Regions from separate parts of the Homo sapiens genome. Here region 1 is linked to region 2. The links are contacts of gene promoters, found by promoter capture Hi-C in blood cells and fetal thymus (Javierre and others, 2016). All regions are on one chromosome and are shown on one strand. The core of a region is centred on a gene start or on the middle of the fragment in contact, and the rest is flanking DNA. Distances in the headings are between cores, read along the strand shown. Region 1 has its middle 19 kb from the start of CD300E. Region 2 holds the start of CD300LF (CD300 molecule like family member f).

Region 1 (5,695 bases), core at 2,863-5,362, 71 kb after region 2:
ACCTTGCCCAGCTAATTTTTTGTATTTTTAGTAGAGACGGGGTTTCACCGTGTTAGCCAGGATGGTCTCGATCTCCTGACCTCGTGATCCGCCCACCTTGGCCTCCCAAAATGCTGGGATTACAGGCGTGAGCCACCGCACCCGGCCTACCTTGCACTCTTCACCTGCAGCTGTCAGTGTGGCTCCCACCCTTCTTTCAGGTCTCTGTTAAAATAAGATAACACTTTATCATAGATACCTTCTCTATAGATATTAATACAATAGCATTTGCCTCCCCTCACTCCCTCTACCCTTTTTGTCTTCGGGGCACTTATGACCACCTGGTACATTTTATATGTGTTTATTTTCTCCTCTCCCCCTCCCCCTAGGAGAATGTAAGCTTCCTGAGGACAGAAGCTTGATTTGTTTGTTGCTGCATTCCAGCACCTAGCACGGTATTTGGCATGTAGTAGGTGTCCAGTAAATATTTGTTGAGTTGAATGAATGATAATTTATTTGAGATTTGGAGGAAGAGTATGAGTTAACCAAGCAAAGAGAGGAAAGGAGCATTTTAGGCCCAGGAAACAGTGTGTGAACAGTCACTGTAATCAAGGGAATGTGTTCTGTCTGAGGAACCAAAATCTTTGTGGTTGCCCCTTGGGGATTAAGTGGGAGGTTATTATGGCTTGAGGCTTGGGAGGTCAGCAGGGGCCAAACTGAGGTCCAGTAGAGGAGTTGTAAGAGCCCTGGGAGGCTGTTAATGTTTCTTACAGGGGGAGTGGCAAGATCAGATTTGTTTGCAAAAATACCATTCTGGCTGCACAGTGGCGAAAAACTAAGAGTGAACGTGGGCAGACCACCTGGGAGGCTATTGACAGACGATGGTAGCTTGGGCTAGGTTGGCAGAGAAGGAGATAGAGAGATGGACAAATCTGAGAGCTTTAACAGGAGGCAACATTGAATGGGCTCCAGGCAGGACAGAGTGTGGGGATGAAGACACAGAGGGGTCAGGGATGAAAACTAGGAAACAGTGTAAGGTGATGGGACTCCTTTCTGGAGGGCATAATTGTGAGTTTACTTTGGACTTGTTGAGTTGGATGCATCTTTGAGACGGCTCAAGTGCAGATATCAAGGAGAGGGATGGCAAGGAGGTCTGAGGTTAGAAGAATGTTTGGACTGGAGATTGAGTTTTCCAGGAATCTGCTCAAAATGGTTTTTAGACCCAGGCTCTGACTGACTTTGAGGATAGTTATCTTGGGATCTGTAGCTTTATGTCTTGCTGAAACTGGGAAAATTTTAGCCGTTATGTTTTCAAATACCTTTTTGCAACTCTGCTTTCTTTCTTTTCTTCTTCTGGAACTTCAATGACATGAATGTTTGCTCTTTTATTACAGTCCCACAGCTACCTAAGGCTCTGTTCATCTTTTAAAGTCTATTTTCTCTCTTTTGCTCAGATCAGACAATTTCTATTGTTCTGTGTTCAAGTTCACCGATTCTTTCCTCTGTCCTCTCCCTCCTGATGTTGAGCCCATTAGCTGAATTTAAAAAATTTAGTTATCATATTTTTCATTTGTAAAATGTCCACTTGCTACTTCTTTGTGTCTATTTCCTTGCTGAGATTTTCTATCTTTTCATATATTTCAAGCATGTTGAGGAGATTGCCATAGCATTGTGTTTGAACACTTGCTTGTCAAGTAGTTGCTGCTTATCATCTCAGTTTCTTTCTTAAAAGAAAAAAAAAAGCAGTAGAATAAACAATGATTGCAGGTGTGAATGGAGACCACCATAAGAAGAGATAGGGAGGCACCAAAGCAGAAGGCAGAGCATGCAGCACTTGCTCTCTGTAGCATGGTCAGCCCAGAGTCTAGGAGGACTGGGCTGTATAGAGGGGAGAGCAGAGCTCAGTAGGCAGAACCATGAAGCTGCTTTTCACCACCTTCCTTCTCTCTCTTCTAGTTGCCTGGGGCAGAAGTGTTGATGGAGAAGTGGGTTAACATAGTAAGTATGTGGGGGACAGTTGAAATGGCAAAGACTTTCTGCTTATTTCTGGAGCCATGCATATGTGCTTAGTACAGGAATTGAGAAAATCATGTGTGTTATTCCAGAGATTAATTCCAACCTTTCTTACCTGCATATAGCATCAAAACCTCCTTCTTTATTTTGAAATAATTTTAGATAATTTAGTATCTTATAGTTTGTAAGAATCTTTCTTTCTTTCTTTCTTCTTTCTTTCTTTCTTTCTTCTTTCTTTCTTTCTTTCTTTCTTTCTTTCTTTCTTTCTTTCTTTCTTCTTTCTTTTTCTTTTTTTTTGGAGACAGAGTCTTGCTCTGTCACCCAGGTTGGAGTAGAGTGGCGCAATCTTGGCTCACTGCAACCTCCATCTCCTGGGTTCAAGCCTCCTGAGTAGCTGGGATTACAGGCACGCACCACCACACCTGGCTAATTTTTGGGTTTTTAGTAGAGACAGGGTTTCACCATATTGGCCAGGTTGGTCTCAAACTCCTGGTCTCAAGTGATCCACTCGCCTTGGCCTCCCAAAATGTTAGGATTACAGACATGAGCAACCACACCTGGCTGCAAGGTTGCTGAGTGGACGGACATTCACTCATTCATCTCTTCACACAGCATGCATTTACTGAGCACCCGCGGTGAGCTGGTCACTGTACTTACTGCTGGGATATGAAGATGAGTCAGACACCGCACCTGCTCTGGAGTGGGGGTTTCTATTCTTATTGGAGAGGGGAACATAGATAACCTCACTCTGGCTTCTGGTTGGGCTCAGGTTGTCAATGGAGGAAAATGACTGAGGCAAGTCTCAATCATTTTAGGAAGTTTATTTGCCAAAGTTAAGGAAACGCGCCTGGGAGACAGGTCTATACCTTTCTCTGAAGATGATTTTGGGGGCTTCAATATTTAAAAGGGAAAGGGTGGGATATTGAGAAATACACAATTTTCTTGTGAGAGGGGAGGTGGGGAAAATAGCCATTCAGGCCTTTGTCTGGCTCAGTGAATCTGCATTTTTACCTAAGATAACGTAAACAACAGGGCAGAGGAAACAGTCAGATATGCGTTTGTCTCAGGTGGGCAGAGGAATGACTTTGAGTTCTGTCCTGTGTCTCGCACCTGTGAAGATAAGCTATCAGTTTACATTGGCATGGGGAAATTTAACAGAAACGCTTTAAAGACCACAATGTGAGGGAGGTTGGTAGCCTGTCATCCTTGTCACCATCTCATTTAGGAACCAACATGGGAGGTAGGTTTGCATGACCCAGTTCCCTGCTTGACTTTTTCCTTTGGCTTAGTGAGTTTGGGGTCCCAAGATTTATTTTCTTTCCAAGGAATGGCAATGGGTGGTGCCAGCAGGAGAAAGGAAGGTGAGAGTTTCTCCTGCCCAGGTGCCACCCTGCTGGGCTGGAGTGTCCGTTTTCCTACTTTGAGGTCACAGCCCCTGTGGCATGGTCCTGTCCTACAGTTCCTGTGGGTTCTGGTTATTTCTGACACCTCTCCCTGTGTTAGAGGTGTCGTGGCCCTACTGCTGTTGCTAGTCCTGTTTTTTCTCCATCTCTTGTTGATTTCACTTAACTCTTTCCTTCTCTTTGTAAATTTCCCCTGCATTAGATTATTCTGTTATACCAACTGAGCCTGCCATTGGCCCACTCCCAGGATCCTGACAGAATCATGATCTCTCCTTCTTCTTTGTATACACAGCGCCTTTACTTAGTAGACGCTCATTAAGTGACTGTCCAATTAATAATAATGTAACATGTTAGGGGCTGTGTCAGCAATTTTTGGGTAAGATTTGCCCTCTGAACATCCAACTCCCTGTTTTGATGTCAGATAAATCTGCTGGATTAGTATATTTGAAGACACAATGATACATAAAAATGTGACTTAACTTGTCTGTTTTTGGAAGTTGTAGGCTCTTGAGAAACTGGGTGGGTGCCCTGTGATGCTAATTATTATGAGAATTAAAGCCACAAAGTTTCTGTTGTGATTAGTAGTTTTCCTGTCTCCAGCTTCTGCTTTTTCTGAACAGCTCTACGTATAAACATTGATGCAATGGGAAAACAACAAAACTGAGGTGTAGAAAAGAGAGACGCAAGGGAGTAGTAAGAAACATGAAAGCCAGTTTCAGTCCAGCTGACAGAAGCTCCCCAAATGTTGGCAGATGAGGCAGAGAGAGCAAAGAGACACAGTGACACATCTGCCCCTCCTGGACATCCTGGGTCCGGGGAGTGGGGTGGGGGAGGCTGGTGGGAGCATGAGGAACAGCAGGCCTAGTGGCTGGGGAAGGGGAGGTGGGTGGGGCTGGGGTGCACTGGGGAGAGGATGAGGGAATCAGAGGGATGACTAGAGTTTCAGGCTCCAGCCTCAGATGGGTGGGCTCTGCTGATAACAAACAGAGGCCCAAGGAAAGCGACTAAGCCAGGCCTGGTAGTCCAGAGGGCACAGAGGCAACCCAGGGTGTAGTGGGGAGCCCCTCCAGGGCCAGGCGAAGTCTTGCTCAGCATGAGGTCTGCAGCTGCAAACACAAAGTAGGACTCACACTTAGCAGGGCCTCCATATGCGGCAGCAGAATGCACAAATGGATTTGAGTTGTTCTGAACATTAGAGAAGCCCAGTGGGGAAAGGAATGCAGGGTCTGGGTCAGGTGCGGTGGCTCACGCCTGTAATCCCAGAGCTTTGGGAGGCTGAGGTGGGTGGACCACCTGAGGTCAGGAGAGGAGCGCCGTGTACCATCAAGACAGCCCTGGCAAATGCTTTTTCACAGTGGTCACAAAGAACCCCAGCAAGGAAGATGTGGCTGTGTGCTGGTGTGCAAAGAGAGATGTTTTTATGCACCCAGGGGACATGGGATGATTGCTGTTTTGTCACATGGGAGTGTCCTGTAACCCCCACCCTCCTTCCCAAAGAGCACAGACTGTGTCTGACAGCTGGTATGTGTGTGCACGTGCGCACATGTGTGCTTGCACACCTTCTGCAGGCTCCTCCTCTGTTCTAGCATCAGAGTCATATCTCTCTCATCTGTTTCTTTTTTCTTTTTCTTTTTTTTGAGTTGGAGTTTTGCTCTTGTCACCCAGGCTGGAGTGCAATGGCACGATCTTGGCTCACTGCAACTTCCTCCTCTCGGGTTCAAGGGATTCTCCTGCCTCAGCCTCCCAAGTAGCTGGGATTACAGGTACCCACCACCAATGCCCAGCTAACTTTTGTATTTTTAGTAGAGACAGGGTTTCACCATGTTGACCAGGCTGGTCTCCAACTCTTGGCCTCATGTGATCCACCCGCCTTGGCCTCCCAAAGTGCTGGGATTACAGGTGTGAGCCACCGCGCCCTGCCAGGGTGGGGGGTCCTAGCTAGGAATACATAGAAAGACTCTGGAGATTCTTTTAATAGGATATGCGAAACTCAGTGTATGTGTGTGTTTTCCTAGGGCATGGGTGTATAGCTTTTGTTACAATCTCAAGTGTATCTGTGACCTCAGCTCCCCGAAGTTAAGAACACAGGGGACTCTCTCTCGCCTTGAATCCTCCAGAATTCGCTCACCAGCCCTGTCTGGTGTGGATATGAAGGTGAAGGAGAGGCCTCGGAGGCTTAGGGCGGGACCCATGGGCTCCTAACAGTGGCATTGCTCATCTCTAATGTTCCAGGTCTTTTCTGGAGAGCCCTCTCTCCTATTCTAGGCTCTGCTTAGCACCGTCAACGTTGCATCCCTTAG
Region 2 (6,335 bases), core at 765-3,264:
TTGGCCAGGCTGATCTCGAACTCCTGACCTCAGGTGATCCACCTGCCTTGGCCTCCCAAAATGCTGGGATTACAAGTGTGAGCCACTGAGTCTGGCCCTTCCTAATCCTTTTATATCCCCAGTCCCGACCCTAGGGACTTGCTGGGGTCTTGATGGGAAAGGAGAGATGGGGGATGGACATGATTGTCAGAAGGAGGAGAGTGAGGGGCAAAACTGGTCCTTCCTTTCTTCCTTCCTTCCTTCAACAAATAGTTATAAGGTGAGGGGTGGAGCGAGGGGATAATAGTCCTGAGCAATGAACTGGTTTCCTCAGGTAGACCCCCTGGTACAATGGACAGGTTTCTGGAAGATTCCAGATGTAGGTATCCCTGGGATCTCACCTGGTGGGCTGGGGTACAGCAGTAGGAGCTTCCTTCGTGTTCTCAGGACAAAGCGCCTCTTGTCAGTGGGCCAGTAGTTCCCTGCTTGCATCTCCCTTCTCTCTGAACCTCTCTGTGCGTGCGTGTGTGTGTGTGTGTGTGTGTGTGTGTGTGTGTGTGTTTAAAGAGACAGCGTCTGCTCTGTTGCCCAGGCTGGAGTACAGTGAACAGTGGCTCAATCATAGCTCACTGCAGTTTCGACCTCTTGGGCTCAGGTAATCCTCAGGCCTTAGCTTCCCAGATTGCTTGGACTACAGGCATGCATGACTCTGCAGAACTAATTATTATTATTATTGTTATTATTTTTGAGACAGAGTCTTGCTCTGTTGCCTAGGTTGGAGTTCAGTGGTGCGATCTGGGTTCACTGCAACCTCTGCCGCCTGGGTTCAAGTGATTCTCCTACCTCGGCCTCCCGAGTCACTGGGATTACAGGTGAATGCTACCACGCCCAGCTAATTTTTGTATTTTTTAGTAGAGATGGGGTTTCACCATTTTGGCCAGGCCGGTCTCTAACTCCTGACCTGGAGTGATCTGCCTACCTTGGCCTCCCAAAGTGTTGGGATTACAGGCATGAGCCACCATGCCTGACTTTTTTTTTTTTTTTTTTTTTTTTTTTTTGTGGAGATGAAGCCTTGCCATGTTGCCCAGGCTGGTCTTGAACTCCTGGCCTCAAGTGATCTTCCTGCCTCAGCCTCCTAAAGTGCTGAGATTACAGGTGTGAGCCACCGTACCTGGCCTTGTAGTCTGGGGTTGGATACCCAATCTCCTCATAGCTGCCTTCCAACCTTTGGTCTGGAATCTCTCCTCTGGCTTTCTGACTTTGGCCACAAGTGCCCCTCAATCCTCTTGAACTTCTGGCCTTCTGGGCTCCCAAGCATCTGGCTACACCTGAAGCTCCAGGTTTAGGACATCGTGTCTATCAGCCGTGGCTCTCCAGGACCCCTCTGGTGGAGCCGCGTGCCCCTGCCCCCAGCCAACCCACCAGGTTTGGAGGATTGGATAAGGGCTGGCCAGACCCAGTGGATCTGTCTGCAGGTTTCCACATGACAGAGGAGCCACGAAGTTCTCTTTTTAGAGAACCCACGGTGGCTGTGTACAGAGAGGTACTTCTCAGAAGCTGATGATTCCTGTGACCCCTTGCATTGTCAACTGCCTCGAAATTTCACCCTTTCCACCTCCTTCCTCTTTTTTTTTTTTTTTTTGTTTTTGTTTGAGACAGAGTCTTGTTCTGTCACCCAGGCTGGAGTGCAAGTGGCACGATCTCGGCTCACTACAACCTCCGCCTACTAGGTTCAAGCGATTCTTCTGTCTCAGCCTCCTGAGTAGCTGGGACTACAGGTGTGCGCCACCACGCCTGGCTAATTTTTGTATTTCTAGTAGAGACGGGGTTTCACTATGTTGGCCAGGCTGATCTTGAACTCCTGATCTCGTGATCCGCCCGCCTTGGCCTCCCAAAGTGCCAGGATTACAGGCCTGAGCCACGGTGCCCAACCAACCACCTCCTTCCTCTTTTAGTCTCTTTCACCCATGGGAAGTGACTGAAGGAGGAAGTTCAAGGGCGAGAGTGAGTACCAGCAGAAGGCTGGGAGTCTGTAGTTTGTTCCTGCTGCCAGGCTCCACTGAGGGGAACGGGGACCTGTCTGAAGAGAAGATGCCCCTGCTGACACTCTACCTGCTCCTCTTCTGGCTCTCAGGTGAGCGGGCCTGGGTCTGTCTTCTTGGGGAAGCTTAGCAAGCAGGAGGAGGTGGCTGAGAGAGGGAAGAAGGGACCCGGCCAGAAGGTGTCCTTAATGGCATGAGCCTTGTGCGTTTCATCCACATACCCACCATTCACCTAGCATTTCCGTTGCCAAGGCAGGAATACAGGGCATGACCTTCATAATGAAGCCAGTGCAAGGCAGAATTCCTGACCCCCAGGGGCTGATCATGTGAAATGGACAGACTGTAGGCCCCGCCGGCCAGGGAAAAGCAGAGGAGGAACATGGGCTGCTCAGGAGAGCAGGCGACTGCCTGATCCTGGACTGGGTGATCTGTCACCTGCGTGGAGGTGTTCTGAGCAAGGGCAGGCGTCAGGGAAGAGGTGAGGCTGGAGGACTTTGAAAGGAGGGAAGAGGGAGTTTGCTGGGCAGAGAGGGAGTGGTGGTTCTAGGCATTTGGGGCAGAAGGAAATAGTAGAAGTTGCTGAGGGACGGAAAGGTCAAGAGGAGATAAGACTGGCAGGGACGTAGAGGAAAGGAGGGACTGAGATGTGGGCAGAGCCAGAGGGCAGGAGACACCTTAAGTTGGTGCATACAATTTTTATTAAAAATGAAGGGAGGCCAGGGAAAGAGGCTCATTCCTGTAATCCCAGCACTTTGGGAGGCTGATTGCTTGAGCTCAGGGATTCGAGACCAGCTTGGGTAACATGTGGAAACCCTGTCTCTACAAAAAGTACAAAAATTAGCCAGGTATGGTGGCATGTGCCTATGGTCCCAGCTACTTGGGAGGCTGGAGGCTGAGGCATGAGGATCACTTGAGCCCAGGAGTTGGAGGCTGCAGTGACCTGTAATCACACTACTGCCTTCCAGCATGGGTGACAGAGCGAGACTCTGTTTCAAAAAAAAAAAAAAAAGAAAAAAGAAAAAAGAAAAAAAAAGAAAGAAAACAAAAAAATAATTTCAAGAAGTGAGAAGTGATAAGTACTGTGAGGAAAACAGAACAAGATGATATGTTACAGTGGGACCCAGGTAGGGGGATGCTGTAAGTCAGGTGGGCTGAAACAACCCCCCTGAAGAGGGTCCCAGATGCCTGTCCGAGCCGAGACCTAGGAAAAGGATCAGACACAGGATCGGGACCAGCTTTCCAGGCACAGGGAACAGTAGATACGAGGGCTCTTGTGTAGGAATGAGCTTGGACTGGGCACGTCTGAGGAAGAGGGAGGTCAGCACGGCTTTGCCTCATGCTTCAGAAGATCCTGGTGGGACAGATTGGAGAAAAGGTCTTGGGGAAGAAAGTGACTTGTCCAGGACTGCTAGGCTGGTACAGGAAGAGCAGGGAGTGGCTCATGGACACTTGGCCCCGAGTTTCAGCATGTAAGTGGAGAAGGCAGACTTTGGGTGAGATGTTATGAAATGCATTGGCACAGTGAGACCAGGACAGGTATGGCTGCTTTTTTTCTGACACCTGGAAATGAGAGAATTTGGTAGTGAGCAGATGTGAGAGTCGTGTTGGGAGTGGGAGTGGTTTGGGACCTCTGTCTGAAGTGGGCAGAAAAGCCAGCAGGCACAGCTATGGGCGCCAACATGGAGCCCGGATACCACTGTGAACCTGCATGCATCAGCTCTTGCCAGCCTCTCCTGCAGAACTTCCACCCACAAGCAGCAAGTGTGCTTACCCTGTTTCCCTCTTCTAAATAATTTATCGTTTTAAAACACCCAAGAAAAAAAATACCCATCCGGAAGTTTGTTTTCTGTGAGAAAGGAAGGTTTTTTATTTTTTTTGAGTTGGGGTCTCAGTCTGTTGCCTAGGCTGGAGTGTGGTGGCATGATCATAGCTCACTGCAGCCTCAACTCCTGGGCTCAAGTGATCCTCCTGCCTTGGCCGTCTGAGTTGCTGGGATTAAAAGCATGAGCCACCGTGCCTGGCAAGAACAGATTTTTTGTTTTTTTTTTTGAGACAGAGTCTCGCTCTGTCACTCAGGCTGGAGTGCAGTGGCGCGATCTTGGCTCACTGCAACCTCTGCCTCCCAGATTCAAGTGATTCTTCTGCCTCAGCCTCCCAAGTAGCTGGGATTACAGGTGTGCCAGCATGCCTGGCTATTTTTTTTTTTTTTTCGTATTTTTAGTAGAGATGGGGTTTTACCATGTTGGTTAGGCTGGTCTCGAACTCCTGACCTCAAGTGATCCACCCGCCTTGGCCTCCCAAAGTGTTGGGATTACAGGCGTGAGCCACCGCGCCCAGCCTCACTGTGCTTTTTTTCCATAAGTCTTTATTGTTTCTGTTAAAGTTATTCCTAGGAATTTAATACACTTTTATTGCTAATGTAAATGAGCACTTTTCTACTTTACTTTCCAACTATTTATTAGCAGTTTATAGGAAAGCCATTGATTTTTACATGTTTATTATTTAGCCACTCTATTAAATTCAATTATGAATTAAAATACTTTTTCATTTAAAATTAAAAAATTTTCTCTAACTTTTTTCCCTTTTGATAATTATACATTTTATGTTTTTCCTTATCTTCCTATATTGATTAGAATTTCCAGGCTGGGCACAGTGGCTCACGCCTGTAATCCCAGCACTTTGGGAGGCCAAGGCAGGCGGATCACAAGGTCAGGAGATCGAGACCATCCTGGCTACGGTGAAACCCCATCTCTACCAAAAGTACAAAAAATTAGCTGGGCGTGGTGGTGGGCGCCTGTAGTCCCAGCTACTCAGGAGGCTGAGGCAGGAGAATGGCGTGAACCCGGGAGGCGGAACTTGCAGTGAGCCGAGATTGAGCCACTGCACTCCAGCCTGGGCGACAGAGCCTGACTCCATCTCAAAAAAACAAACAAACAAAAAAGAACTTCCAGAATCATGTTATTATATATATTGGGAATTCATGTTTTGTTTATGATGTCAATAGGAATGCCTATAGTATTTCACTGTTAAGAATAATTTGGCTGGTGATGCATGATGGCTCAAGCCTGTAATCCCAGCACTTTGTGAGGCTAAGGCAGGCAGATCGGTTGAGTCCAGGAGTTTGAGACCAGCTTGGGCAACAAAGTGAGACCTTGTCTCTCCAAAAAAAAAAATACTAGCCTGGTATGGTGGTGCATGCCTGTGGTCCTGTCGTCCCAGCTACATAAGAGGTTACAGCAAAAGGATCACTTGAGCCCAGGACTTGAGGCTGCAGTGACCCATGTTCGTACCAGTGCACTCCGGCCTGGGTGACAGGCGACCAAGCAAGACTCCATCTCAAAAAAAAAAGAATAATTTGGCTCTTGGTTTATGGTGTCCTAAAAGTCTTTTTAATTGTGGAAAATAAAATGTACAAAAAAGTGCATAAAACTTCAACATCCATGTTAACAAATTATTATAAAGTACATATGAATGTCTCGCACTAAGTGTGGTGCTTGCTGAGGTTTTTGATAGACAATCTTTATCAGATAAAGGCAGTTCTCTTAGTTTGCTAAGAGTTTTTAAAAAATCATGAATGAGCGTTGATTCCTATCACTACTTCTCTCTGCACCTAAGATGATCACAAGATTTTTCTCCTTGACTCTGTTAATATGGCATATTACCCTTATTGATTTTCTTTTTTCCTTTTTTTTTTTGAGTCAGTCTTGCTCTGTCTCCAGGCTGGAGTGCAGTGGTGTGATCTTGGCTCACTGCAACCTCCGCCTCCTGGGTTTAAGCGATTCTCCTGCCTCAGCCTCCCGAGCAGCTGGGACTACAGGCGCCCGCCACCACGCCCAGCTAATTTTTTGAATTTTTAGTAGAGACGGGGTTTCACCATGTTGGCCAGGATTGTCTCGATCTCTTGGCCTCGTGATCTGCCTGACTCGGACTCCCAAAGTGCTGGGATTGCAGGTGTAAACCACCGTGCCTGGCCTCCTTATTGATTTTCCTTTTTTTTTTTGAGACGGAGTCTTGCTCTGTCGCCCAGGCTGGAGTGCAGTGGCGCGATCTCGGCTCACTGCAAGCTCCGCCCCCCCGGGTTCACGTCATTCTCCTGCCTCAGCCTCCGAGTAGCTGGGACTACAGGCGCCCGCCACCACGCCTGGCTAATTTTTTGTATTTTTAGTAGAGACAGGGTTTCACCGTGTTAGCCAGGATGGTCTCGATCTCCTCACCTCCTGATCCGCCCGCCTTGGCCTCCCAAAATGCTGGGATTACCGGTGTAAGCCACCGCGTCCAGCCTCCTTATTGATTTTTTAATGTTAAAAACCATTT

What was found. The method cuts DNA at HindIII sites, captures the fragments that hold promoters and counts their contacts. A CHiCAGO score of 5 or more calls a contact.
Region 1: a contact is called between a fragment that was not itself captured here and the fragment with the promoter of CD300LF in region 2, in 1 of 17 cell types (naive CD8 T cells). The highest score is 5.1, in naive CD8 T cells.

What each region holds. Positions count from the first base shown.
Region 1 is chr17:74,640,160-74,645,854 of GRCh38, reverse strand. No RefSeq gene overlaps it. Among named protein-coding and RNA genes, the nearest start is that of CD300E, 19 kb to the right of the region's middle. The HindIII fragment of the contact is 7,428 bases long and covers 399-5,695 here.
Region 2 is chr17:74,708,602-74,714,936 of GRCh38, reverse strand. CD300LF (CD300 molecule like family member f) reads left to right here and starts at 2,014. Exons shown (of 7, transcript NM_139018.5): 1 at 2,014-2,113. The coding sequence starts at 2,071. It also overlaps a transcript of RAB37 not described here. The HindIII fragment of the contact is 2,812 bases long and covers 1-2,148 here.